2 separate regions of the Homo sapiens genome follow, and region 2 is linked to region 1. Evidence: promoter capture Hi-C in 16 types of primary human blood cells and fetal thymus (Javierre and others, 2016). All regions are on one chromosome and are shown on one strand. Each heading gives the region's core, a stretch centred on a gene start or on the middle of the fragment in contact. The rest is flanking DNA. Distances are from core to core; before and after follow the strand shown. Region 1 holds the start of KPNA1 (karyopherin subunit alpha 1). Region 2 overlaps MYLK-AS1 (MYLK antisense RNA 1).

Region 1 (6,334 bases), core at 2,315-4,814:
TGAATATACAAAGTGGATGGACCTTTCGGAGAGCTGGAAACGAATTCCTACAAGTTTAAAAATGTGCTGTGCTAGTAAATAAAATCCTAAGTATTTTGTGCTCCAACAATTTTGTTTATAGAATATTTAGCTTTATGTTTTTACTTTGACAACAGAAGCAGTGTAATGTAGGCAGAGGAGCAAAGCTGCAAGTCAAAATTAGTTTTATGTTTGACTGTATTCAGTTTTACTATCACACAAAAGAAAAGAAAAACGTCCTAAAGATCCCAAGTAGTTCAGAAAAGTACTAATGGAAAAGGAAACAGAAAGAATAAAAATATCTCAAGCTATCATGGGACAGAAAGAAATATGTCATTATTTTTTATTTAATATAGGTAATATCTATCTCATTAGTTCTATTGTATACATTCTTTAAAAAATTCTTACACTTATTTATCTCAAGAATATAGGATGATATAGCCTACAAAATTCAAATATGCAATAGAGCTAAATTGCTATACCAGAGGAAAGAAAGAAACCTTATGAAATTGTTGCATTTTTCTCATACATATTATTTGCTTAATTAGTCTCTCTATTTATTACTACTAGTTGCTTTTTTTTTTTTTTTTTTGAGACAATATCTTGCTCTGCCACCCACGCTGAAGTGCAGTGGTGTGCTCAGACTCCTGGTCTCAAGTGATCCTCCCACCTCAGTCTCCTGAATAGCTGGGATTACAGGTGCGACTCACCATGCCCGACTAATTTTTTTGTGTGTTGAGATGGGGGTCTTGCTATGTTGCCCAGGCTGGTCTGGAACTCCTGGGTTCAAGTGATCCTCCTGCCTCAGCCTCCCAAAGTGCTGGGATTACAGGCATGAGCCACTGTTCCCAGCCTGCTATTTTATTTAATTGCATTTATGCAACAGAAAAGAAATACAACAGAATGCATAATTCTAAGTAAATATCTATTTTTCATGTTTTTATGTTCAAGTAATTTATATGTTAGATTGGCAAAAATTTAAAAAGCCAGACATTTCTAACTGTTAGCAAGTGAAGAGTATCTTATATACCGTTTCTAGAGTACAAATTGGTACAATCACTTTATGAAATAATCCAGCAATGTCTAGTGTATTAGTTTTCTATTGTATAATAAATTACCATAAACATAGTATCTTAAGACACATTTATTATCTCACAGTTTCTGTAGACCAGGAGTCTACGCACAGTTTATCTGTTTTCTTTGCTCAGGGTCTCACAAAACTGCTATCAAGGTTTAAGTCAGGCTGTCTTCTCATCTGGAGGCCACCTCTCAGGTTGTTGGCAGAATTCATTTCCTTGTGGTTGTGTGACTGAGGGCCCTGGCTTCTTACTGGTTGTCAGCTGCAGGCTGCGCTCAAGTTCTAGAAGCCGTCTGCAGTTCCCTGCCATTTAGTTTTCTCCATAGGCAGTTCGCAACATGACAGCTTGCTTCTTCAAGGCCAGCGAATCTCTAGCTCCAGTCTGGAAAGACAGTCTTATATAATGAAACGGAATCATGGGAGTGACATTCTATCACCTTTGCCATATTCTGTTGGCTAGAAGTAAGTCAAAGGTCCCACCTACACTCAAGGGGTGGAGATTATATAGGCAACACCAGGGACCAGAGATTATGGGGGCCATCTTAGATTTCTGCCTGATACATATAGTAAGGTTAAAGATGCAATGTCCTAGGATCTAGCAGTTTCCCTATACACAGTAGAGATGTACAAGAATGTTCACAGCAGCATTGTTTGTGACAGTAAAAAATACTGTTCTATACTTTCAAATTTCTCAAACTATAAAATGATATTGTCAGAGAGACAGTAGCTTATAAAACACCATGTATGGTATGATAACATTTTTGTAAAAGTAACATACATAGGAATTCAACTTCCAGCAATGGCCTACTGTTGTTTTCAATCAACCTTTCCACTACAGAGAACAACTGAACAAAATATAAAAACGTTAATGTACTGAAGAGCTACCAAGGAAGTGAGAATTTGTGAGTGCAAGGTCTGGAAGAAAAAGGAAGCCACCAGAGGTTAGCCTGATATTTGCCATCATTTTTCCAAAGCTAAGGTGATTGCTGACTCTGAAAGCAGTGGCTGAAACAGGGAGAAGAGCTTATGGCTGTCTCATGGGGCTTAGAAGGCCCACCAAAGAGAAGAGGCCCTAGTAAATACCCCAGACTTTTGGATGGGACCATCAAGGACTAGCTAGGAATAAGGGTGAACCGGAAATAAATTAGCTTTCCCAAAGACTGAAGACCGGCTCTGAATAATCAGTCTTAGTTCCTTATTGGAATAAGGTGATCTGTCTTCAGTCTAGCTGTGGTCAGGCAAACTTGCCCTTAAGTCTCTCCTGTTGAACACACCTTCCCTTTCCCCAGCCCCCTTGCTCAAACTCAACTCTGATCTTAGTAAACACAACATCAGCGGGAGAATGCTGATGCAGCAGAGAGAAGTCCAGGACAAATGAACATTGCATAACCTAGGATTCAGGTAGAGTGGTCCTCTCTCCTCTCCTCTTCCCTGGGACATTTATAAATGTATTAATCTACCTCATCTCTTTCACCTTGCTTCTTGGCATGTGTTTTAAATCTGTCTACTATTCCGTGATCCCTGCTAGGCTGGCTTCAGTTTTTCTTCTTTTGAAGCCACTACTCCATTTGCTCCCCCAAAGAATTCCATGAAATTTAACATTAGCAATCATTTGCTCCAAGTTTTCGTTTGAGAGCAGTTGAGAGTAAAACGAGTATGTGTTTCATGTAGTTTCATTATTATTATTATTATTATTGTTATTATTATTTTTGAGGCAGGGTCTCACTCCGGTTGCCCAGGCTGGAGTGTAGTGGCGCGATCTCGGCTCACTGCAGTCTCACCGTCAACCCCGGGCTCAGGTGATTCTCCCACCTCAGCCTCCCGAGTAGCTGGGACTTCAGGCGCCCGTCACCACCCCCTGCTAATTTTTGTGTTTTTAGTAGAGACGGGGTTTCGCCATGTTGCCCAGGCTAGTCTCAAAACTCCTAGCCTCAAGTGATCCACCCACCTCGGCCTCCCAAGGTGCTGGGATTACAGGTGTGAGCCACCGCGCCCGGCCCTTAATTATTTTTGATACTACGCATACGTTATCAAGCAAAGGGGATGGGAGATAACTAAAAAAGGAATGTCCAGAAGCTTCCTGCATTCATGCTGCATGTGAGCCCTTTAGACACGAGGCGCTGACCTACTAATTTTGTAATACTCCCTCAGCCTTCAATCATTCCATCATTCATTCCATCAACGCGTATTAGGTACTTAGAAGCTATACAGAGGTGAGCATCGATCCGCCCTGGAAGAGCTTAGCAAAGACAGGTTTGTACATATAACTTTCTCCAACCTTTGCCATGGTCTGCAAACCTCCTTCTTAGCGAGACCCCCTCCCCGACCCCCGACTCTTCACAGGCTGGGCGCTAACCATTAGGAATGTCCGGCGAGAGAGCGTTACAAGACTACGTCTCCCGGCAGCCTCTGCGACAAGCGCCGGAGGGGCGCGCGTAGGCGCTCGGGCCGGCCCCCGCACGCAGGCGCACTGCGAACGCCGGCTGAGCTGAGTCTCGCTGCTCGGTGCGAGGCGGCGGAGAGCGAGGCCTGGTGAGCACCGCCGAGGCGCGGGCCAGCTCTTCGAGGTTGTGCGCGGGAGTGGCACGGCGGGCGGGCGAGCGAGGGGCTAACTTCAGCGGTGGCACCGGGATCGGTTGCCTTGAGCCTGGTGAGTGCTGGGGCCTTGCGGCCCCGGCCCCTCCCCCTCCCGCCGGCAGATCCGGGCAGTCCCGGAGGGACTCAGGAGAGGCCCTGGGGCGAGGGCGGGTGCCGGCAGGGCCTAGAGCCGGGGTTCCTGGGCCGGACGCTCGCGCCGCGTCCGTGCGTCACGGGCCCGGCTGTCCTAACGGCCACAAGGCCGGCGGAGGAGAGGGTGGGGGTGGGGAGCCCTGGTGTGATCGCCATCGGGAACGCCGGTCGAGGCTAGGCGGGGCGGGGCGGCGTGGCGCGGCGGCGGGGCTGTAAGCGGCGCCGGGGACTGCGGGGCGCCGAGGCAGCGGGCGGAGAGGAGGCGAGCGCGGAGCCTGCGCCGCGGCCGGGCGGCGGGCGGGAGGCGGGGGTGGGCCGCGCAGAGCGCTGTGACAGAGGCAGGAAGGAGCAGGGGTGGCGTGTAAAAATTCTAACCCTGGCAAAAAGGGACCGTCTTGGGAATTCACAAGTTACAGACCGGGTCGGAGCCGGCGGCCCGGAGGGAGGTGGGGGAAGCGGGGGGTGGAGACGGCCGGCTGCAGTTTACCGATGTCATAACAACATGGGCCTGGAGCGGCTGATCGGGGGTGTGGTAATTATAGCAATGACAGAACTTGGTCTGCACGCCGCGTGTGCGATGCGAGGGAAGCAGCGAGGTATCGGATTAAGCTCAAAACGGGAGGAGGAAACAAGGATGACTGGAGTCAAGGAAGTCGTCATGAAGTAATGTTTTAGGATTGGGTCGTGTTCCACTTTTAAATGAAAGCGTTCAAAATATTTGATTTTTAAGGTTTCAACTCAGAACAAACGATTGCCGAGTTTTTGTTTGTATTTTAAAGAGATGGGGTCTCGCTATATTGCCCAGGCTGTACTCCAACTCCTGAGCTCAAACTGTCCTCTTGCCTCAGCTTCCCAAGTAGCTGGGACTAGTCTTGGGCAACCACACCCAGCTCTGCAGAGTATTTTTTTTTCTGAAACGTACTGTCAAGTAATATTAACTTGAATTTCACCCTTTTTTCTTAAATAAACGGTTGCTTAAAAATCTCTATTAGTAGATGAAGTGATTTCCCCCCTCCTGTTTTGTTTTTTTTTTTCTTAAGAGATGGAGTCTTGCTTTGTTTCCCGGGCTGATCTGGAACTCCTGGCCTCAAGGCATCCTCCCTACTAGCTGGAACTACAGGCGGATGCCACCAGCAAGGCTCATTCTCGACATTGTTTTTGTCTTAACTAGCTTTTGCATTTGTAATATTTTGAAAGCAGTACACAAGTTATTTTTCCCTCCTTTTTAAAGATCAAAGAGATGAAAATTTAATTTTTCAAAGGAAAGTAAGAATGAGTTCTGTTGTATTTTTACTGAAATATTCTTGGAAGACACTGTTTTATGGATAGATGAGACGTAAGAGAAAGTAAAGGAATTAACATTTATTGAGTTCTTTTTTCAGGTATTGTGTTAAATGCTTTACATATATTAAAAACATTTGAATCTGAAGTATCTGTTAATTTTTCTATTTTACAGATGAAAGCATTGACAATCAAATGTTAAGTAACTTACCTAAGGTCTTCCAGTTCTTGTTGAGAACAACCTTAGAACCCAAAGTTACTGCCATTTAAATTATTTCTCTCCTTTCATACTTTTTCGTTGTTTTCTTTATTTAATCCGTTCAATCAGCGAATACTTACAGAGTGATCTTCTAGACTTGGGGGGATATAGTCGCGATCAAAACTCACTGTCCCTGTTCTCATGGAATTTATAGTGTAGCAGGGAAAGCTAATATTACAAATATTGACTGCATAACATTTTGTCAGTTATTATAGTTGAGTAGCAACTGTAAAGCACTCTACTAAATAGTAAAGGCAGTTCAAATGGAAGCAGACAACATAAGCCTTGAGGAGTTTACAGTCCTGTAGGGCAACAAAACATACATTTATGAAAACCTAGAATAAACTAAATTAGAAAGGTATCACCTGAAATCACTATACTTGCATTATGGTATTTTTTATTTTATTTATTTATTTTTTTGGATGCTTGCTCTGTTGCCCAGGCTGGGCAGTGACGCGATCTCGGCTTACTGCAGCCTCTGCCTCCCTGGTTCAAGCAGTTCTCCTGCCTGAGACTGCCTGAGTAGCTGGGACTACAGGGGCATGAGGCCACACTCGGCTAATTTTTTGTATTTTAGTAGAGACGGGTGGTTTCACCGTCTTGCCCAGGCTGGTCTCGAACTCCTGAGCTCACGCAATCCGCCCTCCTCGGCCTCCCGAAGTTCTAGGATTACAGGCATGAGCCACCGCGCCCAGCCGCATTATGTTACTTTATAAAGTGGTTCTCGTAGAAGTTTCTTCACAGAACTATGATTTAATATACATCTTATCTAGAGCTGATACTTACCAAAGGGGCCATTAAAAACATCTTTTCTTCATTAATATCTAATGAAGAAATTTCTAATTTATGTATTGGTTCCTATAAAATACAGACCTTAGAGACAAATTCTTCCTAAGACCCCAGTATTAAGCTTTTTTTTTTTAAACTAATGATTGGTTTTATTAGATTATTTTTGTTTTGTAAGCCAT
Region 2 (6,865 bases), core at 1,915-4,414, 1.1 Mb before region 1:
GAAATAAAAAACATAATTTATGTCCACATAAAAACCTGCACATGAATGTTCATATGAACTTTATTCATAAGTGCCAAAATTTGGAAGCAACCAAGATGTCCTTCGATTGGTGAATAGGTTAAAAAAAAAAGAAGGTACATCCAGACAATGGGATATTATTCAGTGATTAAAAGAAGTGAGCTGTCAAGCCATGAAAAGACACAGACAAACCTTAAGTGCATGTTGCTAAGTGAAAAAAAAAAAAAAACAACAGAAAGGCAACATCCTGTATAATTCCAACTATATGACATTCTGGAAAAAGCAAGACTGTAGAGACAGTAAAAAAATCAATGGTTACTATGGGTGTGGGAGGAGGCTGGTTTGGGATGAATAGGTAAAGCACAGATTTTTAGGGCAGTGAAACTATTATGTACAATGTGCCATGACAGATACATGGTATTATATATTCATAAAAATTCATATAGGCAAGGAACAAGGGATTATTAAAAATGACCAGACAGATTTGAAAGGTTTATGTATTGTTTAGGAAGATGATAAAGTACTGATTAATATTAGACTTTAATGAGTTAATGATCCATGCTGTAATTTCTATGGTAACCAGTAAAAGAAGAGAAGCAAGATGTACAAATTCCAGTAAGTAGAGGGGGAAGAATAAGTGATATTTTAAAAATTATAAATGCAAAAAAGGAGTGATACGGTTTAGCTGTGTGTCTCCAACCAAATCTCATCTCAAATTGTAATCATCACGTGTTGAGGGAGGGACTGGTGGGAGGTGATTGGATCATGGGGATGGTTTCCCTCATGCTGTTCTAGTGATAGTGAGTTCTCACGAGGTCTGATGTTTATAAGTGTTTGGCAGTTCCTTCTTTGCTCTCTCTCTCTCTCTCCTGCTGCCTTGTGGAGAAGGTGCTTGCTTCTCCTTTGCTGTCCACCATTGTATTAGTCCCTTCTCACACTGCTATGAAGAAATATCTGAGACTAGGTAATTTATAAAGGAAAGAGGTTTAGTTGACACAGTTCTGCATGGCTGGGGAGGCCTCAGGAAACTTACAATCATGGTGGAAAGGGAAGCCAACATATCCTTCTTCACATGGCAGCAGGGGAAGTGCCAGATGCTTATAAAACCATCAGAGCTTGTGAGTCTCACTCACTATCCCAAGAACAGCATAGAGGTAACCGCATCCACGATTCAATTACCTCCCACTGGGTCCCTCCTACAACACATGGGGATTATGGGAACTAAAATTCAAGATGAGATGTGGGTGGAAACACAGCGTAATTGTATCAACCATGATTGTAAATTTCCTGAGGCCTCCCAAGCTATGCAGAACTGTGAGTCAATTAAACATCTTTTCTTTATAAATTACCCAGTCTCAGGTAGTTCTTTATCGAAGTGTGAAAATGGACTAATACAGAAGATTGGTACTGGGAGTGGGGCACTGCTATAAAGATACCTCAATATGTTGAAGCAAGTGTGGAACTGGGTAACAGCAGAGGTCAGAACAGTTTGGAGGGCTCAGAAGAAGACATGGGGAAGATGTGGGAAAGTTGGGAACTTCCTAGAGAATTGTTGAATGATTTTGACCAAAATGCTGATAGTGATATGGACAATGAAGTCCAGGCTGAGATGGTCTTAGATGGAGACGAAGAACTTATTGGGAACTGGAGCAAAGGTCACTCTTGCTATGCTTTAGCAAAGAGACTGACAGCATTTTGCCCCTGCCTTAGAGATCTGTGGAACTTTAAACTTGAGACAGATGATTTAGGGTATCTGGTAGAATAAACTTCGAAGCACCAAAGCATTCAAGATGTCACATGGCTTTTTCTGAAAGCAAACGGTCACATGCGTTCACAAGGAGATGATCTGAAATTGGAACTTATGTTTAAAAGGGAAGCAGAGCATAAAAGTTTGGAAAATTTGCAGCCTGACCATGCAGTAGAAAACAAAGACCCATTTTCCAGGGAGATATTCAAGCAGGCTGCAGGAATTTGCACAAGTAACAAGGAGCTGAATGTTAATAGCTGAGACAATGGGGAAAAATGTCTCCAGGGAATTTCAGAGATCTTCAGGACAGCCCCTCCCATCACAGACCTAGAGGCCTAGGAGGGAAAAATAGTTTCCTGGGCTAGGCAGGCCCAGGGCTCTACTGCTGTGTGCAGCCTCAAGACATGGTGCCCTGTGTCCCAGCCACTCCACCTCATGGCTAAAAGGGGCCAAGGTACAGCTTGGGCCATTGCTTCAGAGGGTACAAGCCCCAAGCCCTGGCAGCTTTTATGTGGTGTTGGGCCTGCAAGTGTGCAGAAGCCAAGAGTTGAGGTTTAGAAACCTATGCCTAGATTTCAGAGGATGTATGGAAATGACTGGATGTCCAGTCAGAAGTCTGCTGCATGGGCGGAGCCCTCATGGAGAACCCCTACTAGTGCAGTGCAAAAGGGAAATGTGGGGTTGGAGCATCCACACAGAGTCCCCACTGGGGCAATACCTAGTGGATCTGAGAATAGGGCCACTGTCCTCCAGACCCCAGAATGGTAGATCCACCAACAGCTTGCACCCTGGACCTGGAAAAGCTTCAGGCACTCAACTCCAGCCCATGAAAGCAGCCTTTGGGACTGTACCCTGCAGAGCCACATGGCAAGAGCTGCCCAAAGCCTTAGGAGCTCACCTCTTCAATCAGCATGCACTGGATGTGAGACATGGAGTCAAAGGAGAGTATTTAAGAGGTTTAATATTTAATGACTGCCCAACCAGGTTTCAGACTTGCATGGGGCCTGTGGCCCCTTTGTTTTGGCCAATTTCTCCCATGTGGAATGAGAACATTTACCCAATGCCTGTACCCCCATTGTATCTTGGAAGTAACTAACTTGTTTTTGATTTTACAGGCTTGTAGGTGAAAGAGACTTGCCTTGTCTCAGATCAGACTTTGAACTTGGACTTTTGAGTTAATGCTGAAATGAGTTAAGACTTTGGGGTACTGTTGGGAAGGTATGATTGGAATAGCATGTGCAAATTCCCTGAGGCAAAAAAGGAGTACTGCTCGATGGAAGACCTAAGATGAGGCCAGTATGACTAGGAGGGGCATGGTGAGACTGAGGAGGCAGGTAGGGTCTAGTCTATGCAGATTTTTGTATACCATATTAAATATTTTATGCTTTATCCTAAGTGTCATCAAAAGCCATTTAAATATCTTCAGGGGTGGGGCAGAGGAAGGTAGTAGACACGAACAAGGTTGTATGTGGAAAAGATCACTTTGGCTGTACTGTAGAGCAGGGGTCCCCAACCTCTGGGCCACAGACTGGTACAGGTCCATGGCCTGTTAGGAACCCAGCCACACAGCAGGAGGTGAGCAGCAGGCAAGTGAGCATTACCACCTGATCTCCACCTCCTGCCAGACCAACAGCGGCATTAGATTCTCATAGGAACACGAGCCCTATCATGAACCATGCAGGCGAGGGATCTAGGTTGCAGGCTCCATCTAATGCCTGCTGATCTGAAGTGAAACAGTTTCATCCTGAAACCATTCCCTCCCCAGTCCATGGAAAAATTGTCTTCCATGAAACCAGTCCCTGGTGCCAAAAAGGTTGGAGATTGCTGCTATAAACAACAGACTGGAGTTGGGCCTAAGTGACTGCAAGAAGATACATTGAGTTTTAAACTGATTTCCAACTGAACAGAACTTTATGCATTCCTGCCTCCTCCTACTTTCCCATTAAGTAGATTATATTGAAAAAAAAATCAGTCAAATGAATGAAAGAAGCTTTTAGATGAATGATTATTTGGTTTTGTAAAATGGTTCACTTCTTTATTTCTTTTGCAAAGAAATTTTTTTGCCCTCTGATCACAGTGTGCAATTTGGGCTCACCAACTTGCTCTTTGAAAAATTCAGGAAGGTCGGGTGTGGTGGTTCATGCCTATAATCCCAGCATTTTGGGAGGCCGAGGCAGGTGGATCACCTGAGGTCACGAGTTCGAAACCAGCCTGGCCAACATGGCAAAATCCCGTCTCTACTAAACATACAAAAATTAGCTGGGCGTGGGGGCAGGCACCTGTAATCCCAGCTACTTGGAAGGCTGAGGCAGGAGAATTGCTTGAACCTGGGAGGCGGAGGTTGCAGTGAGCCAAGAGTGTGCCATTGCACTCCAGTCTGGGGGACAAGAGCAAGACTTCGTCTCCAAAAAAAAAAAATTTCAGGAAAACAAGGCAACAGAATCTCTGAACAATCTGCCATGGCGGGAAAGGATGGGACCCTGACAATTGTCAACTTATGCCTCTCACTTCATCTCTTGAGGTCTTGAAACTTCTTTTGCAAAAATTGTAACAGTGAGAAAATTATGACTGAGAGAGATCTGATCTAACCAGCCCCCACCTTGACTCTGTAAATCAAAGAACACGATCAAGGCAAGTCTCAATCATTTTAGGAGGTTTATTTGCCATAGTAAAGGATGCATGCCAGGGAGGCAGGTATATGCCTATCTCCAAAGATGATTTTGAGGGCTTCAGTACTTAAAGGGGAAAGGGTGGATACTGGGGGAAGAGAAATTTTTTTTTTTTTTTGAGACAGAGTCTCGCTCTGTCACCAGGCTGGAGTGCAGCGGCGCAATCTCGGCTCACTGCAACCTCCAACTCCAAGCGATTCTCTTGCCTCAGTCTCCCAAGTAGCTGGGACTACAGGCGCGCACCACCACACCCAGCTAATTTTTGTATTTTTAGTAAAGATGGGGTTTCACCATACTGGCCAGGCTGGTCTCAAACTCCTGACCTCCTGATCTGCCTGCCTGGCCTCCCAAAGTGCTGGGATTACAGGCGTGAGCCACCACGCCCAGCCAAGAAATATTTTTAAATTGTGTCAGTAGATAAAAAGATAAAACAGTTGCATCCTTTTGAATACACAATTTTCATGTGAGTGGGGAGTGGAGGAAATATTCATGCCTTAGTCTGGCTCAGTTAATCTGTATTTTTACATAAGATAACGTAGACAATAGGGCAGAGGAAGCAATCAGATATGCATTTGTCTCAGGTGAGGAGAGGGAAGACTTTGAATTCTGTCCTATGTCCCATACCTGTGAAGATATCAACTTACATTGCCAGGTTGAAATTCAACAGAACTGTTTTAGAGTAAAGATCTTTGGGCCTAAAAGGAATTTCCTTGTGGGTAAAATGTGAGGGAAGTATATAGCTTTTATCTTTGTAGCTATCTTATTTAGGAACCAAATGGGAGGCAGGTTTGTGTGACCCAGTTCCCAGCTTGACTTTTCCCTTTGGCTCAGTGAATCTGGGGTTTTCCTTTCTCATCTTTAACCTCCAAAACTGCCCTTGGTCATTCCTGGGCTTGCACCAAGCTAACTTTGGGAGAAACTTAGTTTACAGTTTAAGCGATAATAGCCCCTCCCCAAAACTAAACCACTTTTGTAAAACTAATGAAAAGCCACCAGGTTAGAAGGATAAGAGGAGCTTGAATTCTGCTAAGACATAGGCTTTGTTAAGTTAAATGATTACCAGCCACTATTCCAGAGGTCACTAGATTTGCAGCTTCCCCAGTTCACTACTGTAGAACCTAAGATTGGCCTTTTGAGATAAACTTTCAGGCTTCTGCATTTCGGATGGCTGACGACCCCACTGAGACCTTTGACTCTTGGCTCAACCAGTCCTGTGGCCTCCACCCAGAAGCAGGCTCAGTGCAGGGGGACCATTTTCCACACCCCTATAATTGCATTCCCAACCAATCAGCAGCACCCATTCCTCCAGCCTCCTGCCTGCCAAACTGTGTGTGTGTTGGGGGGGGGGTGGGTGTTTTGTTTTGTTTTGTTTTGACTATAGCTCTCAGATCTTAGCCAAACTATTCTTGAAAAACCCTACCCTCTGAATTTTGGGGGAGATTTGGAGTAATAACTCCATCTCCAAGACCTATCTCATGTCAATTAAATTCTTTATTGCAATGCCATGGTCTCTATGAATTGATTTTGTCTGTGCAGTGGGAAGGAAGAACGTATTGGGTGATTACAGTGTCATGGATTTAAATACCACCACCACCCTCAGAACTCTGAGAAAAGATAATACCTCAAACAGCTCTGAGCTGTCTGAGCTATGTGAAGTATGCAAAAATTTATCAGGCCCAGAGACAAGAGTTTGCCTGGGGGCAACTGTTTAGACATTTTGTTCCTGACTAGCAGCCTCACCCATTATCTTCATGTTCCTGGAATCTGTGATACAAAGAATAGTTTATAGCCAATCAATAGCTAATGTAATTTTAATGTAAATTCTTAGTAAACAACTTAGAAGCTGCCTCTTTTTCCTTTAAAAACCCACTCATAACCGCTGCTAATCAGAGTGTATATTTAGGGTAACTTGAATCTATGCTCCCAGGTAGCCATCTTCAACCTTTATGCTTGAATAAACTTCCTTTAAACTAGATTCTTACCTTTTTTATTATTTTAGGTTGACAACTCTCAAATTTATATCTCTAGCCCATTGGACTTCCTTCCCGAACCTCAGGGTCTAAATTTAATTGTCTATCCAGCCTCTCCACTTGGATGTTTAATAAGGATTTCAAATTCAACATATAAAAAACAAAATTCCCGACTTCCGCCTTAAAAATGGTTTCTTACAAGTTGCTCAAAACGCCTTTGACCTCACACTCCAAAACTAACATATCCACAAATCTTATAATTCTACTTCTAAAATACGCACAGAATTCATTGTTGTTTTCATCACCTCGATTTCCACCACTCTGGCCCACACCACTATCACCATGGCTGGATTATTGTAATAACTTCCTGATACCACTTTTCACCAACTAATACGAGCATTTTCGTCTGGTTCCCTCAGGGGTCCTTAAGCCCCAGGCTGCGGATAGAACCAATCCCTGGC

What was found. The method cuts DNA at HindIII sites, captures the fragments that hold promoters and counts their contacts. A CHiCAGO score of 5 or more calls a contact.
Region 2: a fragment that was not itself captured here is called in contact with the fragment with the promoter of KPNA1 in region 1 in 1 of 17 cell types (fetal thymus); the score reaches 5.1 in fetal thymus.

The regions. Positions count from the first base shown.
Region 1 is chr3:122,512,169-122,518,502 of GRCh38, reverse strand. It overlaps KPNA1 (karyopherin subunit alpha 1), which reads left to right and starts at 3,564. Exons shown (of 14, transcript NM_002264.4): 1 at 3,564-3,746. It overlaps LOC107984000 (a long non-coding RNA gene), which reads right to left and starts at 3,474. Exons shown (of 2, transcript XR_924403.3): 1 at 3,375-3,474; 2 at 1,145-1,478. RefSeq lists a silencer at 3,597-4,286. The HindIII fragment of the contact is 3,104 bases long and covers 3,175-6,278 here.
Region 2 is chr3:123,586,418-123,593,282 of GRCh38, reverse strand. The region is part of intron 2 of MYLK-AS1 (MYLK antisense RNA 1); the gene reads right to left. Among named protein-coding and RNA genes, the nearest start is that of MYLK-AS1, 4.3 kb to the right of the region's middle. RefSeq lists a silencer at 2,255-2,455. The HindIII fragment of the contact is 1,187 bases long and covers 2,571-3,757 here.